3 separate regions of the Homo sapiens genome follow, and regions 1 and 2 are each linked to region 3. The links are contacts of gene promoters, found by promoter capture Hi-C in human tissues and cell types (Jung and others, 2019). All regions are on one chromosome and are shown on one strand. The core of a region is centred on a gene start or on the middle of the fragment in contact, and the rest is flanking DNA. Distances in the headings are between cores, read along the strand shown.

Evidence for each region. Contacts are between HindIII fragments. The study calls those that stand out against the background at their distance.
Region 1: a contact is called between a fragment that was not itself captured here and the fragment with the promoter of EMILIN3 in region 3, in 2 of the 25 tissues and cell types used here (neural progenitor cells and spleen).
Region 2: a contact is called between a fragment that was not itself captured here and the fragment with the promoter of EMILIN3 in region 3, in 1 of the 25 tissues and cell types used here (H1 embryonic stem cells).

Annotation. Positions count from the first base shown.
Region 1 is chr20:41,199,747-41,202,980 of GRCh38, reverse strand. ZHX3 (zinc fingers and homeoboxes 3) reads left to right here. Exons shown (of 4, transcript NM_001384317.1): 3 at 1-924. Among named protein-coding and RNA genes, the nearest start is that of MIR6871, 32 kb to the right of the region's middle. The HindIII fragment of the contact is 4,664 bases long and covers 1-3,234 here.
Region 2 is chr20:41,222,065-41,225,357 of GRCh38, reverse strand. The region is part of intron 2 of ZHX3 (zinc fingers and homeoboxes 3); the gene reads left to right. Among named protein-coding and RNA genes, the nearest start is that of MIR6871, 55 kb to the right of the region's middle. The HindIII fragment of the contact is 5,357 bases long and covers 1-3,293 here.
Region 3 is chr20:41,365,351-41,368,607 of GRCh38, reverse strand. It overlaps EMILIN3 (elastin microfibril interfacer 3), which reads left to right and starts at 1,790. Exons shown (of 4, transcript NM_052846.2): 1 at 1,790-2,140. The coding sequence starts at 1,974. RefSeq lists an enhancer at 2,552-3,053. The HindIII fragment of the contact is 32,668 bases long and covers 1-3,257 here.

The DNA of each region.
Region 1 (3,234 bases), core at 196-2,695, 170 kb after region 3:
GAAGTGAAACCAAAATGACCCGACGAGAAATTGATAGCTGGTTTTCAGAGAGACGGAAAAAAGTGAATGCTGAGGAGACCAAGAAGGCTGAGGAGAATGCCTCTCAGGAGGAAGAGGAGGCTGCTGAGGATGAGGGTGGAGAAGAGGATTTGGCCAGTGAGCTAAGGGTCTCTGGTGAAAATGGCTCTCTGGAAATGCCCAGCAGCCATATCTTGGCAGAGCGCAAAGTCAGCCCCATTAAAATCAACCTGAAGAACCTGAGGGTCACTGAAGCCAATGGCAGGAACGAGATTCCAGGGCTGGGTGCCTGTGACCCTGAGGATGATGAGTCAAACAAACTGGCAGAGCAGCTCCCAGGCAAAGTGAGCTGCAAAAAGACTGCCCAGCAGCGGCACTTGCTGCGGCAGCTCTTTGTCCAGACACAGTGGCCAAGCAACCAGGACTATGACTCCATCATGGCCCAGACGGGTCTGCCACGGCCAGAGGTGGTGCGCTGGTTTGGAGATAGCAGGTACGCACTGAAGAACGGCCAACTCAAATGGTACGAAGACTATAAGCGAGGCAACTTCCCACCAGGGCTACTGGTCATTGCCCCTGGCAACCGGGAGCTCCTGCAGGACTATTACATGACACACAAGATGCTGTATGAAGAGGACCTGCAGAACCTCTGTGACAAGACCCAGATGAGCTCCCAGCAGGTCAAGCAGTGGTTTGCTGAGAAAATGGGGGAGGAGACCAGAGCCGTGGCAGACACAGGCAGTGAGGACCAGGGCCCTGGTACTGGTGAGCTCACAGCAGTTCACAAAGGGATGGGTGACACCTATTCAGAGGTGTCTGAGAACAGTGAGTCGTGGGAGCCCCGTGTCCCTGAGGCCAGCTCAGAGCCCTTTGACACATCGAGTCCCCAGGCTGGACGTCAGCTCGGTAAGGAGTCCACAGGGGCCATGGCTATCCTGTGTGGGTAAGGGGAGGAGGCACTTATGGTTGGGCACTGAATTTACTGCACAGGGGCATCTGCTGTCTCTAAGGCTGCCTGGCAGCAGCATTAACCGCCTGGCTGCTTCAGAGGACAACTAGCAGCAGAAGCCATAGGAATATAATATGATAAACGGTTGAGAGCTGTTTTTTGTTTCATGTGTTTTTAAAAACCTGCGCAGGGGAAGGAACATGGTGACCCTAAAGGGGTCCAAGCTTTTCTAGCCATTTCTTAGCAATAGGAGAACAGGTCAAAACATCCTCTGAGTCGGGCAGATCCACAGCCACTGGGTAGGAGACAGCAACAGGACATGAGTTGAAATTCAGCTCAAATTGATGAAAAGGAAAGAGAGCCTTTAATTGTCCTTAGATACATAATGTGCTTTTTTCTGATGATGAAAGTCTTGTGTTTCTCTGGTTATGCCTGATGTAGAAGAAATGTTTAGTATAATGGAAAATCACCTTCCTTCTTTGACATACATGGAATCAAAAGCTTGAATTTTGTTCCTCAGTTTCTCTGGATTGTACTCGAAAGCAAAATGTATCATAGAAGATTATTTTTATTTAAGACATAGTTTTGAAGCCACAGACAAGTCATGTTATTACGTGTTGATTTTCTAGGTTCCTGGTCACTGAGTTCCCAGCCTCTCCCTTCCCTCCTTACCCTTTGACATTTGTGTTCTCATTAGAGACCCCATCAGAGGGCAGCCAGAAGCTCAGGTGAGAGCCAGGAGGGCGGAGTATTGTAGAAGCTGAAGGGATTGGGGGTTCCAAAATGGCAGCATTGCTAGCTGAGTTGGCAATGTGGGAGGGGGTACAGGAGACACTATTTGTGGTGTTGGGCAATGTGATGGTTCCGTGGTGACTTTGGCATGAGCTGCCTCAGTGTGGGGCCTTGTGTTTGGTACCTCATCCCCAGGGCCAACCATAGTGGCCTATCCCTCAGAAATCCCACAGAATTTCCTGGATGGTGTTGCATTGTTTCCATACAATAGCCAACCATTGTTGTTTGTTTATTTTGGCCTGGCAAATCCCAGCTCCTCCACCCCAGTTGCTTTCTACTTAGGATGTCTTAAAAAGGACAAAATTCTTTTTCTTTCTCTGAATATTTTAAATTCATTTGAACACAACAGTTTGAAACATAGTTATGCTATTGTTTCTTTACTGAATTAAGGAAAAAGAGACTTCCTTTTTGGCCCATAATTTGGTGGGTTGGGGGCGGGGAGTACCATGTCATCCATCTGTTTAGCATTTGCAGAAAGCCTGTTCTTCTCATATTAACATACTAAGGCAAAATCCAGTTCCACAAAGCCCACAGTGAGAGCAAACACCTGGTGGAGCCCAAAGCCCTGGTCAGCACTTAGGGTAGGAGTACAAGGGCCACTGGCTCCCTTACAGCCTCCTCCAACTCCAGCCATGTTTTCAATACGGCAACAACAAAACACTCCCCTCCTTTGGGGCCCACAGCTCACAGCCTGCTTTATAAAGTAGCTGATGGCACACCCTGGAGTCAGAACAACAGGTTTTTATGGCTAGTTTAACTTTTTTATAATGCAGAGCAGGTAGTCTCTCCTACAAGTCTTTGTCCAAGTTTGTAAGTTGGTCCTTATATTATACCCAGCTCTGTGCTTCTTGTAATATACCAGTAGGCCAGGGTGTCATGCTCAAGAGAGATGAGGATGTTTGAACAAGTTGATTACGAAAGCTGACATGGAGAATGATGTTATGGAAGATGGCAGTAGCAGCACCAGGAATCTTTTCCTCCACCAAAGCAGTTGAGCTGGCAGTAATTGTCTCAAGCAACTGTTTTGGGACTCAGAAGTCTAGTTGAACACTTGCAACATCCAGGGAAGAGCTTGATGGAGAGGCTTACAAATTTTGATGGTTTTTTTTTGTTTCAGCATCCGCAAGCTCTGCAGCAGGCAACTGTGGAAAATGTTCCTGGTGCAGACTGTTGGTGCCAGGGTAGGCAATAACAACTTTGTCCTCCAAAAGTCAAGTTTTTGTGGCCAGGTGTGGTGGCTCACACCTGTAATCCCAGCACTTTGGGAGGCTGAGGTGTGGATCACTTGAGGTCAGGAGTTTGAGGCCAGCCTGGCCAACATGGTAAAACCCTGTCTCTATTAAAAATACAAAAATTAGCCAGGCATGTTGGTGAGTGCCTGTAATCCCAGCTATTTGGGAGGCTGAGGCAGGAGAATCACTTGAACCTGGGAGGCAGAAGTTGCAGTGAGCCAAGATGACACCACTGCGTTCCAG
Region 2 (3,293 bases), core at 30-2,529, 140 kb after region 3:
CTCTGAGTGGGATGTGGTGGTAATTAGAACAGTAGCAGTAGCTGCAGTAACTATGATTTATTGAGTGTTTCCTGTATATCAGACAGCATGCTAAATCATTTTGTGTACTTCCTATCAATTCACCGAATGTCATGTCAGGTCTATGAGGTAGGTATTAATAGCTCCTCATTTTACCAATGAGGAAATGGATTGTGAGGACTTAAGTCATTTGCCCAGGAATACACAGTCCACAGTGTTAGGGCTCTGTCTGATGTTAGAGTCTTAACTCCATTATCAGCTACCGTTTATTCACCCATTCACTCACTGAAAACGATTATTATGTGCCAGACATTGTGCTATATGCTACGGAAACAGTGGATATAGGCCCTGACCTTACTTACAGAGCTTACAGCCTAGCCAAAGTGAAAGACAATAAGCAGGAAAAGAATCAGATGAAGATCCAGACAAATTTTGATAAATGTTATGAAAGAAACAATTAGGATGCTGTGATAGAGAATAATTCAGCTTGGATTTGGGGGAGCCCCCAAAGACATTTAGATAGGATGTTCAGAGAAAGTCTAACATTCCTTTCTTAAGAAGGTAGATTTCAAAGAGGCAAAGGGGAAGATAGCTCAGAAGTCCTCTGTTGGAATTATAAATGAGTGTCTGAAAACGTGTATCCAAATGGCCTTGTGATGAAAGAATCCTAATCCTCCTTAATTCTAGCAGTGTTTCCTTGTCCCACTGGGTCACTTCACCTCAAAGTCCTCCTCTGTGAGGGGGAGAATAGAACTTGTATCTAGCTCAGTTTTTGGTTGTATTAGTCATGGTAATAGGATGATGAAAACACAGCTTCCATTTAATTCTCTTCTGGTTGGGCTACATCTTGAATGCTTTGTTCAGTTCTAATTGCCACATTTTGTGAGAAATGCAGACAAATTAGAATGTATAGAGAGAATGTGCAATGAATTCAGGACACTTAGCTGCAGAAGTAAATACTAAAAGAGGAAATGATCTTCAACTGTGTGAAAAGCTGATATATAGAAAAGAGAGTTGATGCGTCATGTAGTAAAAAGAGTTGATTTATGTCCAAAAGACAAATCTAAAAGCTGGGAACCAGGTCCAACTAAGAAAGGGGCTTTGTAATAAATTGTCATAAATGATAATTAGCTCCCACATTTGGGAGATACTCAGTTGGAGACTGGATAACAGATTGCTGCAGGATTTTTTAATTAGGAAAGAAGTTGGACTGCATATATTGTCCCACTCCTCCATTTTGGGTATTTTTTTTGTTTTGCTTGTTCTTTTATTTATTTATTTTTTGTTTTGTATATTGGATATCTCTAAGTTATTTTTGAACTATGGCTTTATGGCCAGAGGCAAATGCAATATATAATATATAGTTTTAAGTGAAGTGCTCACATGCACCCCTACAGAAGTTACACCAAAAGCTCATCTGTAGCTATTAGAAGTTTGAAATGTAAAGGAGCACTACTTGGTATTTGACCCAGTTACATACTCTGTAAGGACCTCTACTCTGACGCCATTAGCTTCTCACTTTCTCACTTGTTATTTGTAACAACCCATGTATTTTGGGAAATATGCTAACATTTTTTCCACTTATGTATTTATTCAATTTTTAACTTTTTGTTTTGAATACATAGCACATTAACATTGTTCAGAATTTAAAAGGGGCTACAGGGAAAAGCTTCCCTCAAACACATCTCCCTCTTCCCCTCGCCAGGGGCAAACACTATTATTAGTTTCTCACATATTTTTCTCGAGGTATTTCTAGCGTATAATTTTTATTCTGTGCTTTGCTTTTTAAAAAACTTAACATATATCAAGATAGCTTGAAGGTTAATCCATAGCAGCATAAAAAGCACCTCCCTTGTTCTTTTTCACAAGTGTGTTACTCCATTGTATAAGTGTGCCATAATTGATTTGATTATCTCCTGTTGATGAGTGATTAGGTTATTTCCAGTCCTTTGCCATTACCATGCTGATAGTAGATTACCTTATACATGTATGACTTACCATTGTGCAAAGTATATCAGCAGGCTGCCTTCCTAGAGGCAGAATCTGGTGAGTCAGGGAATGAGCTTTTATAATTTTGTTCTTGTTAAATACTTCTTAATAGAAGTCTTACCAATTTTCACTCCAGCAAGCAGTGTATGAGAGTGCCTATTTCTGCAAACCCTTGCCAACTCAGGATATTATTATCCAATGTTTCAAGCCTTTCCAAAGTAAGTGAAAGAAAAATAATCAGAGTAATTTTAATTTGTATTTCTCTTACTGTGAGTGAAATTGAGCATTTTTTCTTGTGTGTAAGATCTTGCTGGACTTTGTAGTGAGGCCATTGAAGAAAATCATCAATACAGACTAAGCCTGGAAGAGGTAAAAGGAACATCTTATCCACAGTGGTCAGCCAGAGAGAATTTTTCTTTCTTTCTTTCTTTTTTTTTTTTTTTTAACAAATGTTCTTGAGAAATTCAAGTGAGCTCACCAGCCTGCAAGCTATTCAGCCTGTAAACTATCTGGCCCACACTGGAAAATTTCAATTAAAACAAAACAAATGTAATCTCAGAAGTAAAACCACATCCAGAACAATTTCTTTTTTACTGTTTAGTTTTAAATTTAATAAAGTAATTTACTTAGTACTTGGAACAACATTTAGGATGCAAGTACATTTAAAGTAACATGTTTAACTTTGAAAGGCGCTGTCTCACACCTCAGAGAGTGCAATTTCTAACTACTTGGCTCTTATAATACCCTAGATTTGGTCCCAGCCTCCCCCCAACCCCCATTTCTGTAGTTTCTCTGTAGATTTGAGCAGCTTTTGGCAAAGACCAGAGTCTTTTCATTGGGAACATTGGCACTACACAGCCTCTTTGCTCATTAGCAGTCTGACCCATTAATTTCCTACAACACTTGTGACCAAACCAGTTCAATCCAGTTTTTCCCCTGGAAAAGGACCTTCTAGTTTTAGCAGCACAGATTTGCTTTGCTTTTTTCACAAAGCTTCCCAGGTTTAAACCTATCTTGGTTGATGGCAACACTATCCTTCTAGTTGCTTAGATCAAAAATCTTGGAGTCATCCTTGATTCCCGTGGCTACAATGTTCACATCCTCCTATCCATTCCTTTAGGAAGTCTTTTCGGCTTTACTTTCAAAACATATCCAGAATCCAGCCACTTCTTCTTACCTCCATCTCTACCATCCTGGTCCATGCTGCTGTCATCTCCTGCCTAGATTGATGTCTGACAAGTTTCCCTACTTCTCCACTGTGTTTTCCTACAGTCTGTTCTCAACAT
Region 3 (3,257 bases), core at 541-3,040:
GAGACCATCCTGGCTAACACGGTGAAACCACGTCTCTACTAAAAAAAAAAAAAAAATACAAAAAAATTAGCTGGGCATTATGGCGGGCGCCTGTAGTCCCAGCCACTCGGGAGGCTGAGGCAGGAGAATGGCGTGAACCCGGGAGGCAGAGCTTGCAGTGAGCCGAGATCGCGCCACTGCACTCCAGCCTGGGCGACAGAGCGAGACTCTGGCTCAAAAAACAAAAACAGAAAGAAGAGGAAAGGACACAGATCACAGTCACAGAGAAAAAAAGGTCACCTGAAGAGGGATATGCGGAGGGAAAGTAGAGGCTGGAGTGATGCTGCTACAAAGAATCCTTGACCAAAGAACGCCAGAGATTGCCAGGAACCACCAGTGGCTGGAAGAGGCAAGGAAGGCTTCTCCCCAGAGCCACTGGAGGGGGCATTGCCCTGCTGGCCCATGGATTTTGGAGTTAGCCTCCAGAAATGTGCAAGAATACATTTCTGTGTGTTAAGCCACTGAGTCTGTGGCTGTTACCACAGCCCTGAGAAACTCACACAACCTACACCTGGAAGCTGGATTCCTTCAGCTTCTGTGTTCTGATTCCAAAGCCTGGGGGAAAGCAGGATGGGCCTAGCTGGGGTCAGATGTCCGCCCCACAGAACCCAAAAGCCACTAAAGCTAAGGGCAGGAAATAGATGTGGGTTTCGGAGCTGCCCCTTCCAGTATCCTTGATAACCATCACCCTATCCAAAAGGCATTAATTCATATCTCAAGGTCAATTTGGAGGGAGGTCTCTCCAAGCAAGCCCCAGAGTTCTGTACACCTATCAGCTCCTGGGGCAAAGACACAGACGGCTGTAGCCACCGGTGTGGATGAGACAAGGCCAGGAAAGTACCGCTCTGATGACAGAATCAGAAGGACTCTGTGCAGGTTAGAGAGTTAGCAAGGTGATACTGAATGAGGACGACGATAAAACCCAACTCTTGGGTTCCAAGAGTCAACTTCACAAGCAAAATGTGGACGACGCCTGGCTTCACCGCGGCAGTGCCTTGTGAGAAAGACCTGAGGATTTTCTCTGACCAGCCGGCTTAGAGCTTCAGTTGCACGAAAAGCACAGCACTTTTGGCTGGGCTGGGGCGGTGATAGGCCTTTCGGGCTCGGTGCAACCCATACCTAAGACAGAGAGGCAACACAGGCGCCTCCAGAGAACCAGAGGTGCAACCGGGCCACCAGGCTACGTGGCAGAGGTTGCGGGGTAAGGGGGAGGTGGGATGCCTGGGGAGAGGTCAGCGGAGTTATCAAACTAAGGTTCCCGGGCAATGATGGGGCCAGGAGGCAGAGCGAGCAAACGGGGATGATCTGGGGTCTATTCCAAAGAGGTGGCGGGGGAGGTGGTGCTGCTGTGCCCCCAGTCACGGCCATCTCGGCTCCAGAGCCCTGGAGAGCAGTTCCCGGGTTCACACGGACTCTGAAGACAAGCGTATCCTGAGGGTGGACGACTCCTGGAAAGTCCACGCCCAGGCTGGCCTCAGGGGTCCGCTTCTCTGCGTCTCGCCCCGTGCCCGCAGGCGACAGAGTGGCTGGTGTGCTCGGGGGGCCTCCCAGGGCGCGGCGGCCTGCGCCCCTGCCACCTGGGGCTGCTCCCTTTGGAACCTCCTGTTCGCAGGCGGCTCCTCGGCCGTCCGCTCGGAGCTGGGGCGAGGGGCTGGCGGCGGCGAGCGGCGCGGCCCCAAGTTTATGCTAATCCGCAAAGAGCCCGCCTCCCGCCTCCCCTCCGCGGCCCCAGCCGCTAGCAGCGCCGGCCACTCCGCGGGACGCAGCCGCCGCGAAGCGCCAGGCGGCCGGGCCAGCGAGCTCGGGGGCCGAAGGGGACCCCGGGACCCTCGGGGCGGGACCCGGGCCGACCAGCGGCGGGGGCGGCGCGGCGCTGCAGGCGGACACCCGGCGGGGGGCACCGCGCGGGGCCGGGCAGAGGCGCGGGGGCCGCTATGGGCCGCCGCCGCCTGCTCGTCTGGCTGTGCGCCGTCGCGGCGCTGCTCTCGGGGGCGCAGGCCAGGGGCACCCCGCTCCTGGCGCGGCCTGCGCCGCCCGGTGCCTCCCGCTACAGTCTCTACACGACGGGATGGCGCCCGCGGCTGCGCCCGGGGCCGCACAAGTAAGCGCGGGCGGGCGGCGGGCGGGAAGAGGGAGGGATGGGCCCGCGCGCGTCGCCGCTCCCACCTGCCCGCACCCGCGGGGGGCGTCGAGGCCCCGGGCACCCCGAGGCCGCTGCACAGAGGGGGCGGCGCCCGGGGCCGAGCCCCTGCCCAGGCGAGCGCCCTACGCTCCGGGAGGTTGCGGGGCTGGCGAGGAAAAAGGAACCGAGGGGGCCTGGCGCGGCGGCTTGGGATCCTGGCAGTGCCAGCGGAAACCTTTCCAGCGAAGTAACATTTTCCAGCTGCGCTGTGTGCAGACTCCGGGCGAGCGGACCAGGTGGAGGGAGAGGAGGAAAGGCGGTCCGCGCGCTGAGCACGCGGGGCTCCCCCGCCCCGGGCCTCCCTTCTCTCCCCTGGCCCGGCCAGGTAGGAGATAGAGCTGCGCATCCGGGCGGCCGCTGCCCTCTCGCAGTCAGCCTGGCCCCAGCAACCCCATGGGAGCCCCAGCGTGGCCGGGCTGCAGAGCCAGAGCGGGCTCCTGGCTCCGGGCCTGTGCTGTGGCACAGCCGTCCACAGCGGTCGGCTTATGCCAGGCAGCCACCTCCTCAGCCCTTGTGGCTCATCAAGGAGCCTGCTTTCCCCGCCTCAGCTTCTGGTGTTTCGTGGGCAGTGGCTTGCGAACTGGCCTCAGTTAAGTGGGCTGGAGGCTCTGCCTGGGGTGCTGGCTGAACTTGAATTCTAGCTGAATTTGAGAGCTGTTGTAGGAGGAAGAGTACCGACACTCAGTGGGCCTGGGTACATCACAGCGAGCCTCCTGGAGGAGGTGGTACAAGAACTGCTCTGAGAGTAAGGGAACAGGACCAAAGGCAGGGGCTGCAAAACTACGAGGAGAGGTGGATTTCCCCGGGAGCCAGGCAGGGAGGAAGGACAAGACATGGTGCTCTCAAAGGAGTCACTGAGTGGGGACTCGGAAGCCTTAAATGCCAAGATAAGGAGTTTGGAATCAGCGAAGGATGGGGGGGTGTGGCAGGGCACTTGAGGGAGAATCCGGGCTGGCCTCTTCCCCACGCAGGGAGGGGCAGCCACATCAGGCTCCTGGTTCCAAATAGTGCTTAGCCCAGGGGCCACCCATCACGG